3 separate regions of the Homo sapiens genome follow, and regions 2 and 3 are each linked to region 1. Evidence: promoter capture Hi-C in 16 types of primary human blood cells and fetal thymus (Javierre and others, 2016). All regions are on one chromosome and are shown on one strand. The core of a region is centred on a gene start or on the middle of the fragment in contact, and the rest is flanking DNA. Distances in the headings are between cores, read along the strand shown.

Region 1 (3,355 bases), core at 267-2,766:
CAATAGGAATCCATTAAAAGTTTTAACACTGGTGTGGTGTTAATCAGATTGGCATTAAAACACACACACATGCCGGGCACAGTGGCTCACGCCTGTAATCCCAACACTTTGGGAGGCCAAGGCAGGCGGACCTCTTGAGCTCAGAAGTTCAAGACCAGCCTGGAAAACATAGTGAGACCCCATGTCTACAAATACAAAAAAATTGGTCTGGCACAGTGGCACACACCTGTAGTCCCAGGACTTGGGAGTCTGAGGAGAAAGGATCACTTGAGCCTGGGAGGTTGAGGCTGCAGTGAGCCAAGATCGCGCCAGTGCACTCCAGTCTGGGTGACAGAGTGAGACCGTGTCTCATTAAAAAAAAAAAAAACACACACACACATACACACTGTCTCTGTTATGTGCAGAATGATTAGAGGAAGAGAAAATGAGGAGCTAAGTTTCCTCGCCACTTACTAACGTTTACGTAGTGCTGTTAGGTATTATTCTAATTGTTATCCCCATTTTACAGATGAAACAGACACAGGTTAGCTTGCCTAAGGTCGCACAGATAGTAGTTATAGAGGGTCAAAGGCAGGGAGACCACCTGCCGAGTTCCTGCTCTTCACTATTATGCGTCCTGTGTCTGCTACTTCTGCAGTGGCCCTGGTGAGAGACAATGAGGACTGTGACCAAGAGGGAATGCAAAGAGGACAGGTGGGAGGGAAATAGGGAAATTTGTGAGGTAGAATGTCAGGACTTCAGGTATTGAATGGATGGTGGGAGAAGGGATTTAGGATGATCCCAGGTTTTTGACTTCACTGTGTGCCTGTTAGTGCTACTTTTCTATTTATTGAGATTGAGATGTCCAAAGGAGCAACAGGCTTTGTCAGATGGGAGATAGGGACAGAAGATGAGTTCTAAAGTAATGACTGCAGTCAAGTGCCCCCCCACATCCTTAAAAGCCACAGGAATCTCTACCCTGCCACTTACAGACTGTCTCAGCTTCAGTCTCTGAACGGAGATAATAATAAAATCCACATCAGCGGATTGTTTTGAGGATTAAACACAAAAAGTTGTAAAGGGCTTTGCATTGAGTCCAACACATAATAATTAATATTCAGTAAATATTAATGTCAGAGTTGTTTTACTAATCTGTCTTCCACTTTCCTTTGATGTGGACTTTGCCTTCTCTCTTAATCTGCACAGGTTGCCTTTTCCTGCCTTTTCTATCAGGTGACACTCCACTTATTCCTCAAGACCCACCTCAAAAATCCCCTCTTTTCTTTCCTAGAAGTAGTTGACCTTCTGCCTACTAGCCATATTATTTTATGCATATTGCTGCTGTCACCCTTAATACGTTATTTATATGCCTTATGCTAGAAAACATTTAAGGCAGTTCACTGTAATGAGAAAATATAAAAATTAAACGGATTAGAAAACAAGACAAAAAGAACATTGAGATTAGGAAAAATAAAGGGAAGTCAGAAGTGGGGTGATCCTCAAAATGCAGGAGGATAAAGTCTAGTACATTAATTAACCAAGCTGTAAGTGACCTGTTTCTCCAGTAGGCCATTCTGAGAGGCAGGACCTCGTCTGCTCTGTGATCTAGTGTTCATGAGAGAAGGCAATCTTAGATGCCCAGGAAAAGCACTTTTTTTTTCTGATTTGAACTAGAGGAAAAGTTTATCATTGAGGTCTTTATAAATGAAAGCCAGTGTCATATCCTTAACCTCTTTTCAGCACTGAAGATCATAGAGCTGTTTTGTAGCACATCCCTTGCTAGGTAAAAGAAGGCTAAATCACAATTTAGAAAGACATTCTAAAGCCAGTAGAGGCTGGGTGTGGTAGCTCACACCTGTAATCAATCTTAGCACTTTGGGATGCTAAGGCAGGAGGATCACGTGAGCCCAGGAGTTTGCGACCATCCTAAGCAACACAGCAAGACATGATCTATACTACAGAATTTTTCAAATTAGCCAGGCGTGTGTGGTGGTGTGCACCTGTAGTCTCAGCTACTCATCTCTACTAAAAATTTTCTTAAATTAGCCAGGTGGAGTGGAACACACCTGTAGGTAGTCCCAGCTACTCAGGAGGCTGAGGCAGGAGGATCACTTGAGCCCAGGAGTTTGAGGTTGCAACGAGCCATGATTGCACCACTGCACTCCAGCCTGTCAACAGTGCTAGACCCTGTCTAAAAATAAATAAATAAAATCAATGGACAATGTGGTTTAGGTGGGTAGTGGGTAGCTCTGCTGATCTGGCTTGATTCAAATCAGGGTTTTTTGATTGAATATCTAGACCATAGAGGAAAGACAAACTACAACTTCTTCAGACAATCCTCTATAAACATGGTTTTTGTCAGCTGAGCTTTTGAAAAAATCAAGCTGAAATGAGTGGTATGTGTGATCCGTCAACAAGTATTTATTGCATACCTTCTAGGCACAATGCGAGGTCCTGGCTACTTTGCAGTGAACTAGACAGAGGAGGGCCCTGGCCCCTGCTTTGGGGAAAGAAGCCATAGTGTGCAATCAAATAAGTAAATAAGATAATTTCTGAAAAGGAATGTAATTAAGTTCTGAGAATGAACTTGATGGAATGAGGACAGAGAGTAATGGGGGAGGGCAGTGATACCTGACAGGTTCAACCACATGAAGAGCCCAGGAAAGTATTCCAGATAGAGACAACAACTAGTGCAAAGGCCCGAGGTGAAAACAAGCTCTGCACCCTTTAGAGGAAATAAGGAAAGCCACTGGGCTGGATCTAGGGACAGGACTGCATCCAGGTGGGCCAAGAGGAGTACGATGCAAAAGGAGGTAAAAGGGAGCTCAGGAGGAGCCTTGCAGGCTTTGGAAAGGAGACTGAATTGTCCTTTGTGGGCATTTAGAAATGATAGGAGGATTGTAAGCAGGAGAGTTAGTGATCCAATTCATCTTTTAGATCATTCTGAGTTGCATAAAAAATGGATTCTAGGAAGGCAAGAATGGAAACAGGGAGTCCAATGCAAAATATTCCAGATGAGAGAAATGTGGGCTTGGATTAGAGCGATGTTAGTGTGGAAGATAGAAGTGGATGCTCTTGATATCTCATTCATCCTCCTGGAAAGCTCTTGGAGGAGTACCAGTACCTGTCCATGGAGCTTACATAAGAGCCAATGTCTTTTACAAATTTGATGTGCCTGTATCACTGTCCCTTCATGTAATCCATTCCTCTGGGTCTGCGTATCCAGTTGGACTGGGAGCTCTTGAAGAAGCAGCCCTTTATTTCCTGCACTCAGTTTGAGGAACTGCCCTGCTTTAGAGTAGCTATAGCTACTAGACTGGATATTTTCACCACTACTGTCATGTTATAAGTGAAAAAGTAGAGGTCTTTGGAAGTT
Region 2 (3,437 bases), core at 157-2,656, 540 kb after region 1:
GATGTTCTGACCACTAGGTAGGTTGTAGGTTCAAATTATTTTATTAAAGAAACTAATGAAAATTATGTTTCTTGTGTACCCCAAGTGAGTGATGCTAAGAATTCATACCTATTACATGTGAGCAAATGCTTGGTACATGTGAATGGTCATTACTATTATCTGCAAGATCTAATTAACGTTCTGTCTCTTGTCACCTAAGAATTAAGTTGTAATTACAGTGGCTGTTCTGCCATACTATAAATAATTTCTACTAATACTATACTAGCAGAGAATTTTTCAGCTTCTAACCTGTTGGGAGAAGAGGATATAAATGCAGAAGGCTCACCAGATGGCCTCATTAAAAAACAACTCTGATTTTCATAAAGCATTCTTCACCATTCTCAACCTGAGTTAGTGTAACTGAGGCATTATGAGGGAAAAATGCCTTGAGAGAATCAGAAACTCTCAAAGAAAATTTTCTGATATGTTCATAGGAAAACATGTGCCTCTTGCTTGTGGTATTTGTTGTGCTCTCTCCTGAGGTCCGTGTAGAACAGTCAGTTACCCGTCACCATCTGGCCAGGCTAATTCTGGGTGGCTGCAGCTGCAACCCAGTGTCTGGTAATCACAGCTCCAGGTCCTCTCCATACTAAATAGCTAGCTCAACTTGCTGCCTGGTGAGCAGATTCCACTGCAGGCAGCTTCCCTTTCTAGTAGGAGATCCAGATTTCAAAGCACCAAAGAGGACTCTTGTAATTTATAAACCCAATACTATATATTTCCTTTCTCTCCTCTTAGTAGTCTATATTGGGCTTTCAAGACCACTCACCTGGACCACACATCTCACTGGATAAGTCGTCTTACATGGACTGGTGCAGTAGTCCCATAATTGGTCCCTCTGTTCTGATTTTCCATTCTATAATCTATCTTATGCTGATTCCAGATTAATCCTCCAAAAGCCCAAATCAAGCCATGTCACCTCCCAGCTCACAAACTTTCAGTGTTTCCCCGTTGGCTACAGGATAAATGCAAATTTCCTGGCTTAGCCTTCAAGGCTCTTTATTGTCTGATCCCAGTCTTGAGAAGCCATACATTGTAATGGTTAAGAGTTCAGGTTGAGGTCACTGATACTAGTTCAAAGCTCAGGTTCTCTGCTTTCTTAATATCTTTTCATCAAGGTGGCCACTCTTTCAGTTCACTCATCTTAAAATGAGATTAATAATACTTACACAACTGTTGTAGGGATTGAGTTAAATAAAAATAATTTGCCTAGTACCTTTGCACTGAAAATACTCATTAGACACAAGTGACAGTTACAATAATTGCAATTAAATTTTCAGCATCATTTTTCATTATTGGCCAATATTCCAGCTGCCATGCTTATTGAAGCAGTATACTATAGGTGGCTAAACATTAGGACTTTGTAATAAGACTGAGTTTAAATGCTGACTCTGCTACTTATTGTGCAAGTTGGGCAAGTTATTCATCATGCTGGGCTTCACTGTCCTTCTCAGTAAAATGGAAATAATAATAACTGCCTCATGGGAATGTTGTGAGTATTAAATGAGAGAATGCATGTGAAAAACAACAATTCTTGGAACAAAGTGCTAAGGAAAAGTAAATATAATTTCCTGTCCTATTATCACCTTATTTTAATATACTCTCTTTGAATGTACATTTTAAATTTTATTTGCATTTTTGCTTTTGTTTTTCTTTTCTTTGTCTATTCTAGAACCACCCTATAAACCTTACTCTTTTATTTGTAATTCTCCAGGTCCTACAGTCTTTGAACTCTGATCAAATGCTCAAGTGTTTCCTTCTCCAAAAGTCTTCCATCATGTCTCAGCAAAAAACAATGCCAAAAAAAAATTATTTGGGGAGTATAAAGAAGTACTTTCCAACACACCTGAGATTTTCTGGCCTGTGTATGTTTTATCTTATCAACTAAGTAATGAAGTTCAAGGATTTAATCTTCATATTAACTCCATAGTAGAAACTCAATAAATGCCTGTAGAATTGAATAAATTTCATCCAGTTTTCCCTCTCCCTTTTTGCCATAAGGCCCAGAAATTTAGGAATTAAAGCTGTGAAGTGGAAAGAAAGAAGGTTGGCTTTCCATTGGAAAGTGGATCAGTCCATAGCATTACCTTTGGCTCTTTCTTATTTCCTCTGGGGCCAGTTTTGAGTATTATGCCCTTATGAGAAAGGATTGTTGACTCAAAAGCGCTCAGTTGGGCAAGAAACAAACATCAAAAGCTCTTCCCCAGCAAACTCCACAGTCACTCTGCAGCTTGAGCCCTGCTATTTTCAATTTTACTGATGTGCTTAAACTAGTCCTGCTTTGTGCCTTTTCTGAATCTTGAAAAAGAGGCCTCTTGGGAGCTTAAAGTCTTATCTTCTACTCTTATCATGGCTGTGCCTACTGGAAGAAGCTCTCACTGGGCAACCCTCAATAAAAAGCCTCTCCCTGTCCCTTAAGAAAATGTCTAAGCAGGAGAAATGCCCTATAGCACAGAGAGCCCTTAGAGGCTGCTGCATTCTTGATTTTGTAGTCTCTTCCATAAAATTTTACTCTCAATGAGTGAGTGGGTCTTACATAAGAACTTACAAATTCCTTTGTATATGTTTACATTTGCCTCAATGATGAGGTTCTCAAAGGCAGAGGACTGAATGTCTTTGGCCCCACACAGACCTAAGCTCCAAAACTGGAAGGTCGAATGATTGTGAACAAGTGACTTTGTGTCTTTGTGCTTTAGTTTTTTGTTTGTAGAATGGGGACAGGACCACCTAAGTCACAGAATCATTGTGAGCATTAAAGACCTGAGACCTTTACATAAAAGCCTCCATATAATCAGAAATACTTTTAATTAATTTACATTTGTGAAGGCAGTATAGGCTAGTGGTCAAGCGTATACATTTTTGGTAGCAGGCCAACCTGGATTTAAGCCCTGACTTACTCACACTAAACTATGTGACTTCAGGAGAGCCATTCACCTTTGTGCCTTTGTTTCCTGATCTGTAAAGTGGAAATAACACCACTCCATGAACATCTATGGGAGATTAATAAGTTTGAGAAAGTAAAGTGCCTAGCACAGTACCTAGTCCACATGTGGCACTGAAATGTGTATGTCTTCCTCCTCTGTTTATATGCATTATTTCTCCAGTATCTACATTGTGCTTTACAAACTGTATGCTCATCACAAAAGTTGCAAATGAAAACTCTATATTCCTGTAGGCACTAATGCAGAACATTGCTGCACACCCTCCATCAGTGTTGGGTGTCATCCTATTCCTCCATCAGGAAGCTTTTCCTAACATTCTGGCCAAGCAGGGACATTTCAAGAGGCTGTTTCTCCTCACTTACTGTTGCAATAGACCTAATTGGGCTGGTAACAACAGTGGACTCCCTTGGTGACAGAAGAGTGGTAAACACCCAAGAGGAACAGTTACAATTTCAA
Region 3 (3,407 bases), core at 175-2,674, 620 kb before region 1:
GTTGGTAGGTCTTGAATGTTCCCCAAGGCATTCCATAGCTACAGCAGGTAGGACCACAGCTCTAGCTGCTGCGTGAAGAATAGACAACAGGGGGAAGGGAGGAGATGCAAGAAGATCAGGAGGCTAATGCAGTGGTCCAGGTGAGGGATGATGGTGGCAGAGAATATGAAGGGGCTTAGACAGATTTTAAATATATTTCACAGAGAAAAACCCAACAGGACTTTTAGATTGATAGGATATGGGGTGGAGAGGTGGGACTTATATTCAGCATCAGATCGAAGGGAATGCCAGCCATAATAGTAAAGACCCTGTGCTTTTAGATAGCCTGCAGCTAGAAGACCCTGGCAACATAGCCTAACGTTGAGCACAGGGCCCCAAAGAAGTCCATCTTCTCTATCTGCCTGGCAACAAAGAAGATTTCAGCAAACTTAGCAAGATCTAAGCTTATCCTAAGTTCTCAGAGGAGCCACAATGTGAAAGGGACTTTACGAAAAAAAAATCTGAATACTCAGCTAGGATGTTCCTGTTTTACAGCCCAGTCTCCTGGGAACACTCTGGGCACTGGCCCTTCTGGGGAGAACAGGGGACTGGATGGTATATCCAGGAGTGACCAGCAGGTGGCATGCCAGACTCAGAAATGTGTATTGCAGGGAGCAAGGCAACTCTTGCTGTTTGCTGCTTAAACAGAAGAAAAGGATTCACTCCGGAAGTAATACTCATGTGTGCCATGTACTAAATGGCTACTGTGTGCCAGATACTGTGCCAAGTGCTTATGTGTATATTCTCATTTAATCCTCATAGCTCTACAAGGTGAGCTCCACCACTGTACATATATTCAGAGATCTAAGTGGCTTGGGCAATGTCACTGACATGGTCATTGGCAGAACCAGCCTTGGTCCTCTAGCCTGTCTGACCCCATGGCCACTTTTCCTGTCAAAAGGGCCAGGATCCCCAGCGGCTCTTTCTTGTCCACAGTGGTGCTCTCACTCACACTTGGGGGTAATGCCCTTGGAAGGTGGGGCCATCAGAATTATCAAAGCCTTTAAAGTCAAACGCCCTGGGCTTTGCCGCTCACTTGCTGTGCGATGGTAAGAAAGCTACTTGGCCTCTCTATCCTCAGGTTTCCTCATCTCTAAAATGGGGTGAGGCTGGGCCCAATGGCTCACTCTTGTAATCCCAGCACTTTGGGAGGCTGAGGCAGAAGGACTGCTCGAAGCCCGGAGTTCGATACTAGCCTGGGCAACAAAGTGAGACCACGGCGCTACAAAAAAAAAAAAAAAAAAATTAAAATGCGTTGAGACGTGAGGCAGTGAGCTGTGGTGAGATGATCTTATGTAACTGACCCAGAATCTTGCTTGCTTGGCCCAGAGGAGTGCTCAATGAATGGCAGCTTTTCTGCTTAAAATGATTTCACAGGAGGTAGAGACAACTCTGAAAGGTCTAAAACTGTGCTATCCAATGGTGCTCTCTGCAGTGATAGAAATGCTCTATAACTGTGCTGTCCAGCAGCATAGTCATAACCACATGTGGCTATTGAGTGCTTAATACATAGCTAGTGCAACTGAGAGATTGAATTTTAAATTTTACTTAATTACAATAAATGTAAATTTCAATAACCATATGTGGCCAGTGGCTACCGTATTGGACAGTGCAAGTCTAAAATGTGTCTGCGCTCACAGTCTGTGTGTCCTTTACAGCCCCTTGGGTATGAAACAAAATAAGTTATGTTCAACATTTGGATCCTGGCATATAGCAGGCACCCAGTAAATTTGAGTTAGTCAGAAATGGGAGAGAAAGGAAAATCAGTAAGTGAAGCCAAAGCAATGTTTTACATTTAACAAATTGTGTAAAATTGTAGAACTGGACTCTCAGACTTCTCCAGCAAAATCTTCCAGAGTTCAGTAACCATGGGGGACTGACTGGGGCAGGTTGTTAGTTTTTTACCCTTTCAAGCCAGAATTCTCTAAATATTTCTTCAGCCTGTATTCGATGGGGACAGAGAACAAATGTGTTCAAGTGAATAACGTGTGTGTTCAATACAAATTCCTTTCATCTATTCACTGACTAAAGAACACTTCCTCCTTTTCTGTGCCCCCTCTTCAAATTTTTTTTTGCAATTTCACAAATCAGACAACTGCTTAGAAAGTTTATTCTCTCTCTCTCTCTCTCTCTTTTGTTTTGTGTGTTTGTTTTTTGAGACAGGGTCTCACTCTGTTGCCGAGGCTGGAGTGCAATGGTGAGATCTCAGCTCACTGCAGCCTCAACTTTCTGGAGCTCAGATGATCCTCCACCTCATCCTCCCAAGTAGCTGGGACTATAGGCATGTACCACCACACCCAGACTATTTTTGTGTTTTTTCTGTAGAGACAAGGTTTCACATGTTGCCCAGGTGGGTCTCAAGCTTCTGGGACCAAGTTACTTGCTTGTCTTGGCCTCCCAAAGTGCTGGGATTACAGACATGAGCCAGCATGCTGCGCCAAAAGATTTTAAAGGTTCAAAGTATAAATAACAAAACAACTGGCCCCCCAGGAAGCAGCACTATATCATGCATTTCTCACTTCCAAAATTTTATCTATCCAGATTTTGTTTTTAAGTGATGGTCAGTTGGCAATTCTTGCATGTTCCATAGTTGAATCTTGCAGTTTATAAAAGCTAGTGGCAAACATTTTCTCCAGAGGTAGGTCTGCATTGGCTGACACTGCCATTTGCTTCTATCTGAAGATAATTTCTAGTCAATATTGGGACCAATTTGCATTCCACCTGTGGTTTAAGAAAAATCTGAGTTAATAGACATCTTATTTCCAAAGTATCCCAGTGATGTGTAGTGGTCCTTGTGGACTGGCCCCCTGGGCTGCTGGTCCATTTCCTAACCTGGCTCTGACCCAGTTAAGACCAAGCCCCTCTCCTCCAGAGCATCCTGTTCTGGCCACAGGGCGGACATTCTTACCTATACCAGGCAGAACCTTTCTTACCTGTACAGGGCAGAGCCATTCGTTGCTCCTCACCATTCTGAAGACTTGTACTCTATCTGGGTGCCCTAGCTACCAACATGAAGTAGCGGTGATCACAGCTCCTTGAACAAGACCTATGGCTCTGACAACAAACAGCCCCATGAAAGGAGCTGCTTTTGCTTTTTGTATTTTTAACTTTTCCCTTCACTATACCTCAAAGCCCTCTAGGAACATAGAGAATCCTCTGCCAGAATGACATGTTCTTCTGTCTTTTATGGCTCTTAGATTCTTTTTTTTAAATTTTATTATTATAATACTTTAAGTTTTAGGGTACATGTGCATAACGTGCAGGTTTGTTACGTATGTATACATGTGCCATGTTGGTGTGCTGCACCCATTAGCTCGTCATTTAGCGTTAGGTATATCTCCTAATGCTATCCCTCCCACCTGCCCCCA

Evidence for each region. Contacts are between HindIII fragments. The CHiCAGO score rates a contact against its expected background, and 5 or more counts as called.
Region 2: a fragment that was not itself captured here is called in contact with the fragment with the promoter of THOC7-AS1 in region 1 in 1 of 17 cell types (monocytes); the score reaches 5.4 in monocytes.
Region 3: a fragment that was not itself captured here is called in contact with the fragment with the promoter of THOC7-AS1 in region 1 in 6 of 17 cell types (naive B cells, total CD8 T cells, non-activated CD4 T cells and 3 more); the score reaches 7.1 in naive B cells.

What each region holds. Positions count from the first base shown.
Region 1 is chr3:63,858,806-63,862,160 of GRCh38, reverse strand. It overlaps THOC7-AS1 (THOC7 antisense RNA 1), which reads right to left and starts at 1,516. Exons shown (of 2, transcript NR_104326.1): 1 at 1,165-1,516; 2 at 342-662. All of the region lies in intron 1 of THOC7 (THO complex subunit 7), which reads left to right. The HindIII fragment of the contact is 14,056 bases long and covers 1-3,355 here.
Region 2 is chr3:63,321,959-63,325,395 of GRCh38, reverse strand. The region is part of intron 2 of SYNPR (synaptoporin); the gene reads right to left. Among named protein-coding and RNA genes, the nearest start is that of SYNPR, 45 kb to the right of the region's middle. The HindIII fragment of the contact is 3,760 bases long and covers 1-3,286 here.
Region 3 is chr3:64,481,804-64,485,210 of GRCh38, reverse strand. All of the region lies in intron 3 of LOC105377123 (a long non-coding RNA gene), which reads left to right. Among named protein-coding and RNA genes, the nearest start is that of PRICKLE2-DT, 38 kb to the right of the region's middle. The HindIII fragment of the contact is 1,958 bases long and covers 446-2,403 here.